Regions from separate parts of the Homo sapiens genome. Here all the other regions are linked to region 5. Evidence: promoter capture Hi-C in 16 types of primary human blood cells and fetal thymus (Javierre and others, 2016). All regions are on one chromosome and are shown on one strand. Each heading gives the region's core, a stretch centred on a gene start or on the middle of the fragment in contact. The rest is flanking DNA. Distances are from core to core; before and after follow the strand shown.

Evidence for each region. The method cuts DNA at HindIII sites, captures the fragments that hold promoters and counts their contacts. A CHiCAGO score of 5 or more calls a contact.
Region 1: a contact is called between a fragment that was not itself captured here and the fragment with the promoter of HJV in region 5, in 1 of 17 cell types (activated CD4 T cells). The highest score is 5.4, in activated CD4 T cells.
Region 2: a fragment that was not itself captured here is called in contact with the fragment with the promoter of HJV in region 5 in 17 of 17 cell types (total CD8 T cells, activated CD4 T cells, total CD4 T cells and 14 more); the score reaches 23.3 in total CD8 T cells.
Region 3: a contact is called between a fragment that was not itself captured here and the fragment with the promoter of HJV in region 5, in 2 of 17 cell types (non-activated CD4 T cells and total CD8 T cells). The highest score is 5.7, in non-activated CD4 T cells.
Region 4: a contact is called between a fragment that was not itself captured here and the fragment with the promoter of HJV in region 5, in 5 of 17 cell types (activated CD4 T cells, total CD8 T cells, neutrophils and 2 more). The highest score is 7.2, in activated CD4 T cells.

The regions. Positions count from the first base shown.
Region 1 is chr1:145,796,380-145,799,079 of GRCh38, forward strand. All of the region lies in intron 1 of RNF115 (ring finger protein 115), which reads right to left. Among named protein-coding and RNA genes, the nearest start is that of RNF115, 26 kb to the right of the region's middle. RefSeq lists a silencer at 663-863. The HindIII fragment of the contact is 3,772 bases long and covers 1-2,700 here.
Region 2 is chr1:145,829,167-145,831,866 of GRCh38, forward strand. All of the region lies in intron 5 of POLR3C (RNA polymerase III subunit C), which reads left to right. Among named protein-coding and RNA genes, the nearest start is that of POLR3C, 6.3 kb to the left of the region's middle. The HindIII fragment of the contact is 3,385 bases long and covers 1-2,700 here.
Region 3 is chr1:145,779,169-145,781,868 of GRCh38, forward strand. The region is part of intron 3 of RNF115 (ring finger protein 115); the gene reads right to left. Among named protein-coding and RNA genes, the nearest start is that of RNF115, 44 kb to the right of the region's middle. The HindIII fragment of the contact is 1,049 bases long and covers 775-1,823 here.
Region 4 is chr1:145,873,371-145,876,070 of GRCh38, forward strand. ANKRD35 (ankyrin repeat domain 35) reads right to left here. Exons shown (of 14, transcript NM_144698.5): 8 at 1,452-1,636; 9 at 785-822; 10 at 1-615. Among named protein-coding and RNA genes, the nearest start is that of ANKRD35, 11 kb to the right of the region's middle. The HindIII fragment of the contact is 7,026 bases long and covers 1-2,700 here.
Region 5 is chr1:146,020,365-146,023,064 of GRCh38, forward strand. HJV (hemojuvelin BMP co-receptor) reads right to left here and starts at 1,371. Exons shown (of 4, transcript NM_213653.4): 1 at 1,223-1,371. The HindIII fragment of the contact is 1,771 bases long and covers 1,190-2,700 here.

The sequences.
Region 1 (2,700 bases), core at 38-2,537, 220 kb before region 5:
TGTCTACACATTTTGTGGTAGAAAATACATAAAAATTTCCCATCTTAACTTTTTTTTTTTTTTCTGAGACAGGGTCTCCCTCTGTCACCCAAGCTGGAGCGCAGTGGCATGATCTCAACTCATTGTAACTTCCGCCTCCTGAGACTACAGGTGCATCCCACTGCACCTGGCTAATTTTTGTATTTTTTGTAGACATGAGGCTTCACCATGTTGCCCAGGCTGGTCTTGAACTCCTAAGCTCAAGCAATCTGCCTGCCTCAGCCTCCCAAAATACTAGGATTACAGGCATGAGCCACCACACTCAGCCCATATTAACCATTTTTAAGTGTACAGTTCAGAAGTGTTAAGTATATTCACACTGCTGTGAAACATCTCCAGAACCTTCTCATCTTGCAAAACTGAAACTCTATACCCATTAAACAACAACAACCCATTTCTCCCCTTCATTCCCTGGTAACCACCATTCTACCTCTGTTTCTATGAATTTATAATTTTTGATACTGACACCAACAACCTAACTGTCCCATAGAACTGACCATTATAGTTTCTTTTGAATAAAGATAGAAATTGACCCTCCCAGTCTTAAAACTTGAAAAAGTTACATTTGTCTTATCTGAGTTCCTTTCTCAGGAAACCAACCATCAGGTCTCCCAGATGATATCAAGGAACTGAAACGTACCAGATCACTGCATCTAAACAATGAAACCTCAAACCCCTCAACCCATCATGATTGCCTAAGTGACCTCCTGCTTCCTGTTGACCAACTTCTCTTCCTTATCTCTCCCTAATTCCTATTTTCCTGCATGTAGTTACAGTTCTTCCCTGCTATATAAGCCCTTAATTGTAGTCAGCCAGGGAGATGGATTTGAGACTGAGTTACCCTCTCCTCAGCTACAGCACCCAATTAAAACCTCCTTCTCTGGCAAAACTCATCGTCTCAGCAACTGGCTTTCTGTGCAGCAAGCAGCATAACCTAGAACACATCCCTGGTGTTTCAGTAATAATACCTAATATAAGTGAAAGCATACAGTATTCGTCTTTGACTGGCTTATTTCACTTAACACAATATCCTCAAGGTTCACCCACACTGTCGCATATGACAGGATTTATTTCCTTTTTAAAGCTAAATAATATTCCATTGTGTGTATATACCATATTTTATTTATTCATCAAGGACATCTGCGTTGTTTTCACCTCTTAGCTATCCTGAATGTGCTATGAGCATAGGTGTGCAAATATCTCTCTGAGGTCCTGCATTGAATACTTCTGGATACATATCCAGAAATGAGTTTGATGGATTACATAGTAATTCTATTTTTAATTTTTTGAGGAACTGCCATGCTGTTTTCCATCACAGTTGCACCATTTTACAGTCCCAACAGTGCACAAGAATAGTTCCAATTTCTCATAATCTTCACTAACACTCGTAATTCCCTGTTTGTTTTTTAATAGTAGCCATCCTAATGGATGTGAGGTGATATCTCATTGTGGTTTTGATTTGGATCTCTCTGATGATTAGTGATGTTGAACATCTTTTCAAATGTGTCTTGACCATTGGTTTATCATCTTTGGAGAAATGACTATTCAAGTCATTTGCCTATTTTTTAATCTGTTTATTTGATTTTTTGTTGTTGAGTTGTTGTTCTTTCTACATTCTGGATATTAATACTTTAACAGATACACAATTTACAAACATTTTCTCCCATTCCACAGGTTGCCTTTTCAAGTTGATTGTGTTCATTGATGCACCAAAGTTTTTAAGTTTGATGCAGTCCCATTTGCCTATTTTTGCTTTTGTTGCCTGTGCTTATGGTGTCATATGCCAGAAATCACTGCCAAATCCAAAGTTATAAAGCCTTTCCTCTAAGTTTTAAGTTATAAGCCTTTCCTCTAAGTTTTCTTTTAGGAGTTTTACAGTTTTAGGTCTTATATTTAGGTCTTTAATCCACTTTGAGTTTATTTTTATATATAGTGTAAAATATGAGTCCAAATTTTTGTTTTGTATGTGAAAGTCCAGTTTTCCCAACACTGTTTGCTGAAGAGACTGTCCTTGCTCCACAGAGGGGTCCTAGCACCTCTGTCCAAGATCATCTGACCACATATGCAAGGGTTTATTTCTGGAGTCTCTATTCCATTGTCTATATGTCTGTTGTTATGCCAGTACCACACTAGTTTTATTACCATAGCTTAGTAATATATTTTGAAATCAGAAAGTTTGAGTCCTCCAGCTTTGTTTTTCTTTTTGAAAACTGTTCTGGCTATTAGGGGTAACGTGAGATTCCAAATTAATTTTGGGATGAAACTTCTATTTGCAAAAAAAATGCTGTTGGGATTTTGATAGGTATTCTGTTGAATCTGTAGATCGCTTTGGGAAGAATTCATATCTTAACAATATTAAGTCTTCCAATCCATGAACACAGGATGTCTTTCTATTTATTTGTATGCTCTTTAATTCTTTTCAGCAGTATTTTACGGTTTTTAATATTCAAATTTTTCACTTCTTTGGTTAGGGTCATTCCTAACTTTCATTCTTTCTGATGCTACTGTTAATGGAATTGTTTTCTTAATTTTTCAAGTTGTTCACTGTGTATGGAAACATAACTAATTTTTGTGTGTTGATTTTGTATCCTGCAACTTTGCTGAATTCATTTATTAGTTATAACAGGGTTTTTTGTGGAATGTTTAGGGTTTTCTTTTTTT
Region 2 (2,700 bases), core at 201-2,700, 190 kb before region 5:
ATATTCAAATGCCTTCTTAGCGTACCTATAAAGATGTCAGTAAGCATCTCAAATTTAGTGTGGCCAAAACAGAATAATTGATTCCTCCTCCCAAATATCTTGCTCCCTCATAAACTTCCTCATCTTAGTAAAAGACACTACCACGTAGGCCAGCCGCCTAGGACACCACCATTTCTGCTTAAGCCAAAATCCTTGGAACCCTCTAATCTCACAGTAAAACATATCAGCCCAGTTTCCAAAATTACCTCAAATCCAACCATTTCTCATCTTTTCACTGCCATCTCTCAACTCTTTGCAAACGCTTTCGTTAATGGTCTCCCTAGCTGCATTCTTACCTACTTAGTAGCCAAAATGACTTTCTAAGTTGTTCAAAACAAAACAACACATCCACTGATTAGACTCCTTTAATAGCTTTCCTTTACTTTTAGAAGAAATCCAAGGTACGGGCTAGGAAGCCTTACGTGATCTAGGTCTTCGTATGATCTGCTGGAGACAGGGCTCTTCAACCTCACCTCTGCCCCGTCTCCATCTTACTCACTGTGTTCCCTCTACTGACTTTATCTCTTAAACATGTCAAACTCTTTCTGGTCTTTAGACTTTGGCTCCGGCTTCAAATGTTTGTCCCCAGATCTTCATGTAGTGGTCTCTGTTTTTATCATTTCTATCTTAAATGCTGTTTTCATAGACTTCAAGCACCATTGCCCACTCCTACACTAGTTCCTACCACATTTCTCATTTCATATACTTCACAGCATTTATATTTATAACTGGAATTATTTATTATTTGTGTACATGTTTGTCTAAGAGGTTTGGGCTTTATCCTGAAGGCAAAGGAGAGCCATTGATGGATTTTAAGCAGGGAAATGAAGTGACTGGATTTATATTTTAGAAAGATTATTATAGCACAGCAGTTCCTAACTTGTTCTACTCCATGGATGGATTTCAGAGAGTCCAGTTATACTTACGTGCATTTTTCAGTGAAGCTCTCCGTACCTTTCATTACATTCTTCAAAGGAACTGTGACCCAAAACAGTTTAAAAAAAAAAAAAGCACTACTCTAAGAAATGGGAAGAATGATGCAAAACAAAATTAGAAGGAGAAAACCCAGTTACTCCTTTTATAGTGTCTGCTATGTTTTAAAGGGAAAAAAAAAAACCCAGTTAGGAGGCTATTGTAGTAATCCAGATGGGCCAAGATTTAGAGTCTGAAATAAGGTAATGATAGGAGAAAGAAAAGTAGACATCTGATAAATATAAAGAATAGATAGAACTTGGTAATGGGGTGGTAGATTATGGAGAGCAAGGGACTAGGGGTGATACCCAAGTTTGTAGCTTAAGAAATCGGGTTGGCTGGCCAAGCACAGTGGCTCACACCTGTAATCCCAGCACTTTGGGAGGCCGAGGTAGGTGGATCACCTGAGGTCAGAGTTCGAGATGAGCCTGGTCAACATGGTGAAACCCCGTCTCTACTAAAAATACAAAAATTAACCGGCCATGGTGGTAGGTGCCTGTAATTACAGCTACTTGGGAGGCTGCGGCAGGATAATGGCCTGAACCTGGGAGGCAGGGGTTGCAGTGAGCTGAGATCACGCCACTGCACTCCATCCTTGGTGACAGAGCAAGACTCCATCTCAAAAAAAAAAAAGAAATTGGGTTGTCTAGGCACAGTGGCTCGTGCCTGTAATCCCAGCATTTTGGGAGGCTGACGTAGAAGAATCACTTGAGCCCAGGAGTTTGAGACCAGCCTGGACAACATAGTGAGACCCCATCTGTACCAAAAAAAAAAACACCAGACCTGGTGGCACATGTTTGTAGTCCCAGCTACTCAGGGGCTGAGGTGGGAGGATCACTTGAGCCCAGGAAGTCAAGGCTTCAGTGAGCCATGATGGTGCCACTGCACTACAGCCTGGGCAACAGAGCAAGACCCTGTCTCAAAAAAAAAAAAAAATTGGGTTGGTTATAGTGTAGTTACCTGAAAACTTACAAAACAGAACAGTTTGGGGAACAAATGGAAGTGTCAAATAGGCAGCTGAGTCTATGCATCTGGAGCATAATAGAGAGTTCCAGGATAGGCCGGGTGCGGTAATGCCTGTAATCCTAGCACTTTGGGAGGCAGAGGCAGGTGGATCACCTGAGGTCAGGAGTTCGAGACCAGCCTGGCCAAGATGGCGAAACCCCGTCTCTACTAAAAATACAAAAATTAGCCATGCATGGTGGCGCAGGCCTGTAATCCCAGCTACTTGGGAAGCTGAGGCAGGAGAATCGCTTGAACCTGGGGGGCAGAGGTTGCAGTGAGCGGAGATTGTGCCACTTCACTCCAGCCTGGGCGAAAGAGCAAAACTCCATCTCAAAAAAAAAAAAAAAAAGAGAGAGTTCTAGGATAGAGTAACAGATTTGGAAATGCATCAATAGTTGAAGCCTGGAGAGCAGATAAAATTACCCAAGTAGAGCATGTAGAGTAAAAAGAAAGGAAAGGTATGGACAGAACCCTGACAAAACACCAGGATTACAGTTGGGATCTGAAAGAGGAATCTGTGGATACTGAGGAAAGGTAGCCAGAAAGGTTCAAAGTAACGCCAAGAAAAAATGGTGTCGGCCAGGCCCAGTGGCTCACACTTGTAATCCTAACACTTTGGAAGGCCAAGGCGGGCAGATCGCTTGAGCCTAGGAATTTGAGACCATCCTGAGCAACATGGTGAGA
Region 3 (2,700 bases), core at 49-2,548, 240 kb before region 5:
GTCCTAATTTTTTTTTTTTTTTTGGAGACAGGGTCTCACTCTGACACCCAGGCTGGGGTGCAGTGGCACGAGCTCAGCTCACTGCAACCTCTGCCTCCCAGGCTCAAGAGATTCTCCCACCTCCGCTTCTCGAGTAGCTGGGACTACACACATATGCCACTACACCTGGCTTTTTATTTTTATTTTTGTAGACACAGGGTTTTACCATGTTGCCCAGGCTGGTCTTGAACTCCTGGGCTCAAACAATCCGCCTGCCTCCGCCCTCCCAAAGTGCTAGGATTACAGGCATGAGCCACCACGTCCAGCTATAATTCTAATAACTATAGAGAGACAAGTAAAAGGTTTATGACATAATACCAAGTAAATTTTTAGAGGCAGAAATACAATATACTCTTATGACAGCAACTCTAAACAGTTATGAGGTATGCACATGAGAAATGAGAAGTATTTTGCTAAAAAATGCATAAAGCTATAATCAAGTAATGACAATATGGGATATTTCTTTATTTTTTGAAACGGAGTCTCGCTCTGTTGCTCAGGCTAGAGTGCAGTGGCACAATCTCAGCCCACTGCAACCTCCGCCTCCTGGGTTCAAGCGATTCTCCTGCCTCAGCCTCCCGAATAGCTGGGATTACAGGTGCCCGCCACCACACCTGGCTAATTTTTGTATTTTTAGTAAAGACAGGGTTTCATCACATTGGACAGGCTGGTCTGGAACTCCTGACCTCAAGTGATCTGCATGCCCGGCCAATATTTCTCATTTTTAAAAAAGCTTAGGCCCAGGCACGGTGACTCAAGCCCGTAATCCCAGCACTCTGGGAGGCCAAGACGAGAGGATGACCTGAGGTCAGGAGTTCCAGACCAGCCTGGCCAACGTGGTAAAACCCCATCTCTACCAAAAATACAAAAATTAGCCAGGTTTGGCGGCGGGGGCCTGTAATCCAAGCTACTCGGGAGGCTGAGGTGAGAGAATCACTAGAACCCAGGAGGCAGAGGTTGCAGTAAGCCGAGATCGTGCCATTGCACTCCAGCCTGGGCAACAGAGCGAGACCCCGTCTCAAAAAAACAAACAAAAAAGAGCTTAAGGTTGTTATTTTTCAGTAACTATGCCTTAGGACAAAATCTGAAAGGAAATGTATGGAAAAGGGAGCTCTTAGAATAGTGAAACTCGGCCGGGCGCAGTGGCTCACACCTGTAATCCCAGCACTTTGGGAGACCAAGGCGGGCAGATCACGAGGTCAGGAGATCGAGACCATCCTGGCTAACACGGTGAAACCCCGTCTCTACTAAAAATATAAAAAATTAGCCAGGCGTGGTGGCACGCGCCTGTGGTCCCAGCTACTCAGGAGGCTGAGGCAGGATAATCGCTTGAACCCAGAAGGCGGAGGTTGCAGTGAGCCGAGATTGCGCCACTGCACCCCAGCCTGGGCAACAGAGTGAGACTCCGTCTAAAAAAAAAAAAAAAAAAAAAAAAGTGAAACTCAAGATACATATTTTTAAATTTTTTACTGCCACTATAATGCTGCTTATGTAACAAAAACAAATAACAAATTTTATTTAAATACATATAAATCAGCTCAGAGCACCCTGCCCTCTTGTGCATACCTGAGAGCTCTTTTTTCCAGAAAGCCATGTATCTTATTTTCTCCCAATCTGAGGCAGCAGCCAGAGCCACTCTTGCACTGAAGCAATCCATTCAGGTAAGCTGAGACTCTAAGATCAGATGACCCACTGGCACCAGGTCGTGGTCAGAAGTTTGCAAGTAATCAATGAAACCTTCAGGTAGCTATGGGGCTCACTTTCTAGATTACCACCAGGAAGCTTAGTATAGCAATGTCTTCTCTCTACAAACTGCTAGCAATATTTTCAGATTCACTCTCCACCGGCCCTCACACATTATTCAAACACTGCTCCCATGTAACTGGCAACCCTCCCCTACCTTCTCTCTATCCCATTAGTCTCTTATCTCCTACCCCAGTCTCATTTTTTTAAAAAAAAGTCAATACTGATTTTGACAGAAATTTTCTTGGAATAAGCCTCTTCTAATATAGACAGTATTTTAAGAATTCAGCTATCAGTAAATGTTACTTATAGAAAATAACCACTTCATTGTACAAGCAGCTCCAGCTAAAGAAAAATAGAGCAAAACTGAGCATAAGTCTTTGCCGAAATTACCAACTAAAGCAGGGAAAAGAAAAACAACTTTAGTTTCTATATATAATTTTATTTCTAAGTTTTTTCTTCAGGGACATGAGCATAAAACCTTATAGCTTATGAATACTATTTTGAGATAATTTTCACATCTTTGCTTATCTAAATTCCACCTACTCTTCAAGGCTCCAGTGCAAGTTCTAACTTCACTATGAAGTCTTAATAATGGCTAAAATGTATCAAGCACTCACTAGATGGTAGGCACATTGCGGTCTACACACCTAGCATGTATTAACTCATTTAATCCTCGTAACATCCCTATGAGGGAAGGATGATTATTTCCCAATTTACAGACAAGGACAAGAGAGGCACTGAGAGATTCTAAGTAACTTTGCCCAGATTACACAGCCAATAAGTGGCAGACACAGGATTTGAGCTCAGGCAATCTGGTTCCAGAGGCTGTGTTCTTAATCACTGTTATATGACCTCTCCTCAAGACCCTGGCCCACCTTAACTCTTCCTTCTACTATACTTGTTACATATACCCCA
Region 4 (2,700 bases), core at 12-2,511, 150 kb before region 5:
CTCCTTCTGACCAGCAGGCAGCTGGTCAGCATGATCAGGGCCAAAGGTCTGTGCCCCATTGGTAGTCAGTTGCTGTCCTGTGGCTTTCCTGATGGTCTCAGACGCTGGGCTCTGGGGTGGCCCCTGTTCTTCTGGTTGGGACCTTCCATGGACTTCATACTGGATCTTTCCTGGGGCTGAGTCCTCAGCCTTCTTTGGAGCTAATACTGGATTTACTGTGGCTGCTGCCTGCTGCTGCTTCTTTAGCTCTTGTGTACTCTCAGCCAGCAGGTCCTTAGGACAACCCTGCTCCATGCCATCCCCTCCAGGCCGGAGACTAGAGCCTTGCTTTCCTGAAGCTCTGGGCTCCCAGGATAGGAGGACCCCTAGCTCCTGCGCCTGCTCTCGAATCTGGTTCTCAAGGTCCAGATAGGCTGCAGCTTGAGTCTTACACTCTTCTGTCTTTTGCACCAGCTCCTGCTCCAGCCGAACAACTTTCCTCCGCTCCTCTTCATACTTCCACCTCCACTCCTCCGAGCACGGGTCTTCATCCTCCTTCTCCTCTTGCTCCTCTTCAGGCTCTGCTCTCCATGAGCTCTTAGGAGGAGAACCTGCCTGGGGCTCAGATGGAGAGGCCTATGTTGGAAACAGAATAGTAAAGTGTGGCCACTAGGCAACGAACTGAGCCCTAGGAGTGCCTTTCTTCTCTTAAATGTCTTGACACCCCAAGGACCACTAGGAATAGTCACAGTGGGATAGCCTGGGGTGTGTCAAAAGCAAAAGGGGGAGGCACTTAGGGTCTTACCTGGGATGCGAGATCTGGGTGCTGGACTAGCCTCTGACCTATAAGAAAAGATATGAGGAAAATGAGAGAGAAGACAGGTTCCATGTACTTCCAGCCCACATTCTTATCTTCAGACTTTTTCTGAGAGGAGTGGCCTCTCTGTGATCAATCTCACTGCACATCTTCCTGGTGCCAGAAGCCAATCTTGTTTAGTGGATCCCTAACTATCCAGCAACTTTGGTTTCCTATCCCAGAAATGGGCCACTTCATTCATTTTGTTCGCTCATTTATTTATTGGTCACTATGTCCAGCACTTTAATAAGCACTGGAACTTCAATGGTGAGCAAAACAGAAATGGCCTGTCACCTAAGGGGGTTACAATCTGGTAGAGGAAAGAGAGAGTGACCAACAAATCACACAAATAGATGTACAATTACAACTCACAAACGCCAGAAACAACACTAGCCAGAGCTGTCCTCAGTGAGAGACCAGGCTGCATTAAAGAATTTTGTGATCATACTTTTGGGATGGGGATTTGGGGTCCTCTCACAGTAGCAGCAATAAATACGTAAACTCTCAACCCAGGTGACAATTATTTGTCAGATAGATTACTTCCATGGAAACAAATGGGACTCTAAGAAACTTCTCTGATTCTTAGAGAACGTGGAAGTTACACAAGGGCCTTTACCGCCCCGCCGCCGCCGGCTCAGGGCCTGCTGTAGGTGCCTCCACAGTGCCTTGTCTTGTGTGTGCAGAGCATAGTGCAGAGCATCATGCCCTGTGCTGTCCACAGCCCCCGCGTCAGCTCCGTGGCTCAGGAGCAGTTCAGCCACCTCGGCACTGCCTTTCTCACAGGCCAGGATCAAAGCCGATCTGTGGGTTGAGACAAATCTGAGCACAGACTTTCCACATGGAACCCAGAAGTCCTGGTTCCAGACATTCCACTCACAGGGTAAGCTCTCATTCAGTGGGGTCAGGAGAACAACAGACCAACATTAGACCAGACTAGACTTCTCTTTTTTTTTTTTTGAGACGGAGTTTCACTCTTGTTGCCCAGGCTGGAGTGCAATGGCATGATCTCGGCTCACTGCAACCTCTGCCTCCCAGGTTCATGCGATTCTCCTGCCTCAACCTCCCGAGTAGCTGGGATTACAGGCATGCACCACCACACCCGGCTAATTTTGTATTTTTAGTAGAGACAGGGTTTCTCCATGTTGGTCAGGCTGGTCTTGAACTCCTGACCTCAGGTGATCCACCCTCCACAGCCTCCCAAAGTGCTGGGATTACAGGTATGAGCCACTGCACCAGGCCAGGACTAGGCTTTTCAAATGCCATTCCTTAGAGCTGCAGGAACAGAAATTAGGGGGCCAACTGGATGAGCTCCATTTTTATCTGCTCTGTATATCAAGGTTCTACATACTTTTTTTTTTGAGACGGAGTCTCGCTCCTCTCTCGCCCAGGCTGGAGTGCAGTGGTGCAATCTCGGCTCACTGCAACCTCCACCTCCCAGATTCATGCCATTCTCCTGCCTCAGCCTCCCGAGTAGCTGGGACTACAGGCACCCACCACCATGCCTGACCAATTTTTTGTATTTTTAGTAGAGATGGGGTTTCACCATTTTAGCTAGGATGGTCTCAATCTCTTGACCTCGTGATCCACCCGCCTTGGCCTCCCAAAGTGCTGGGATCACAGGGATTCTACATACATTTTTTATTGGAAAAAAGGATCCTCTTGCATAAAAGATAATTTGACAACCAGTAAATTCAGCCAACGGGTCCAGAAGTGTCGATTCTACTTCTGGGGTCATCTATCTATGAAGATGGTGGTGGCAGCAGGCAGAGCTCTTCAGAACCTCCACTGGGAAGGAATGAGGTTCCCAAGAACACAAAGACCAACCTGACTTCTTCCCCAACACACACAAACACACACACACACAC
Region 5 (2,700 bases), core at 121-2,620:
AAGATTGGTAAGGATAATGTGGAGTGAATCTGGGGAGATCAAGAAAAGGATGAACAGACTGGAATTTGGGGAGATTGGAGTTCCTCAAACTATAAGTGTGGCAGTTAAGCCTCTTTGCCCTGTTCCTGTGGCCACTTTTAGGGCCCTTGTGCAATACCCCTAGGTGGGGGTGGAGGGAAGGTTGAGTGAACTCAAGGGGGCAGAGTCCACTGTATTGCTCCATTCTGAGCTACCAAACAGCAGGTATGTCAAAGATGGAGGAATCATGGGGCTAGATCAGATACCAGTAATCCTAGTGGGTACCCTAGTAAAATTAGGACCTGAAAATATTTCAGAAACATACTTCTTATTTGTCCCTCTCCATTAGGAGGAGATGCCCTCTAGGAGTCATACATTTCTTTTCCTCCTTTGTGTCAGAACACAAGAAGGATTAAGGGTGGCATACCCATCCCGTCTAGAATATCAGTATTCAAATGAAAAGGAAACCAATCTCTTTTCATCAGCTCTAGAGAGCTGCAATTTTAATCTCCCTCTCTCATGGAATAATGGGATGCAAACCAAACATGCAAATCAATATTTGTTTTTTCTAAGTCAACAGTTCTTGTATTTTCCCAAATATCACTCCTTCCATTAATCTCTTCTTTTCAAATTCTGAAGTTCTCAGTCTTTTATGATGACAGGAGTTGGAGAGGGGCTAAATCCCTCCTGCCTAACTCCCCTATCTTATGGGTAAGGATATGATTGGGGGAAGAGTCCTGCAAGAGGGAGAATAGAATGGAGGGACTAGAGTTGTGGGGAGAAATCATTTACAGGGAGCAGCCCCCATGCTTGGAATCTCAATGTGAAGGGCATTGCTAAGTGGGGGCAGGATAGAAGGGTATCAGTGACTCATCATCTGAGGTCATATTTGGCCTTGGTAAGAAAACTACAGAATAGAGGACGTAGGGAACTCCTTCTAAAACTTCATCAGGAGTCTTGAGGTAATAAGGTAAAGAGAGGGCTAAGACTGCCAGAGGAGAGACAGAGAATTAAACTTCAAAAAGCTAGAGGCCAGAGGCCAGAAAGAAATAAGACAGAAAGAGAAATGGAGATTGGGGCACCTTGGTAGGGAGAGATCCCAGCATTTGGACGAGAGACATCCAAGTAGGTGTTTGTAATTTTATAAAAGTCTAACTTCAATATAAAAGCTTATTAAAGGAATTGCAATTTCATTTTGACTTACTGTTTCCAGAGGTCAAACATTACTCTGCTATCCAATTCTCCAGCCATGATTCCCTACTCTGTGGGTCAGCTCCAGCCAGGGGGTCCTCCGTGTCTCCCCCAGGTCCCCAGGCCGGCTGCTGTCTCACTGAGGTCAGGGAACCAGAGAAGGTTTGGTATGGGGGGAAGGGGGAGTATATGGCTGGCCAGAGTACTGGACAGCTGAGCAGGGAGGGAGGTGGCTACTGAGTTGACGGTTTTAAAAATAGCTAAGTCCAAAATTCCAGGAACGTTGGTGGGGGTAGGGTGTGGGAGTTGGGGGAGTGGGGAGGGTTAGAGGATTAGAAAGAATATGGAGTATTGAGTGCCAAGTCAGGGAGGGAGGAGAGAAATATGACAGACAAGTTGGATATCCAATTCCAGCTTGTGTGACTCTGTGGTCACTGCCTACTCCAGGCAGCCCTCCAGCATTTTCAATAATGTTGAGCTCCTGGCCTTTAAAAATTACAGTGGGCAATTGGATACCTTTCATTTACCATGTTCATCCCTGCTATGCTGAATATTACATTTAGGTTCTACAGATAGTATCTAGGAGGTAGCTGACTTTGAATAAGATCCATAGCAGAGGTAGTTCATAGCCCCTCTCCTATCTTTGCAGAGTATTTCAGAAGGACGAAAAAAGCCAGCTGTCCAGAGAAGAAATCTGAGCTGTGAGTTGCTTAGGATGAGGGTTTGTTCAGTCTATCCAGCTCAGATCCTTGCAGCTGTCTATCCTCCTACCTACTCCATTTTCATTACTTTAGTTTGTACAGCAATTCATCTTCCTCTCCCTCATGAATACACAAAAAATAAAGGCTCCCGATTTGCTTGGAGAGAAGGCTAACAAAGGCAAAGAGGTGAAGAAAGAATGGAAATAGAATTCTTCTAAAGAAAGAGTTGGAGAAATAGAAAAAGATTCAAAAATATACTTTTCCTTCCTTCCTTCCTTCCTTCCTTCCTTCCTTCCTTCCTTCCTTCACTCCCTCCCTCCCTCCCTCCCTCCTTCCTTCCTTCCTTCCGAGATGAGGTCTCACTATGTTGACCAGGCTGGTCTTGAACTCCTTGCCTCAATGAATCCTTCCATCTCAGCCTCTCAGAGTGCTGGGATTACAAGTGTGAACCAACATGCCTAGCCTCAGAAAGATACTTTTATGGAATAACATAATCTTGTGACCATAAATATTGCAAAATCTCAGCACTTTGGGAGCTGAGGCAGGAGGGTCACTTGAGCGCAGGAGTTTGAGGCTGCAGTGAGCTATGATAACGCCATTGCACTCCAGCCTGGGCAACAGTGAGACCCGCCCCCCCACCCCCCTTAAAAAAGAAAAGAGATACTGCAACCAAGGGATTTAGCCATGTCATGTTTTTGCAGCCATAGGTATATCTGAGATCATCATCTTTTAGTACTTGCCAAGTGAAATTAACAGAAGGACCGATTCCAAATACGGTCACTGTATTAGG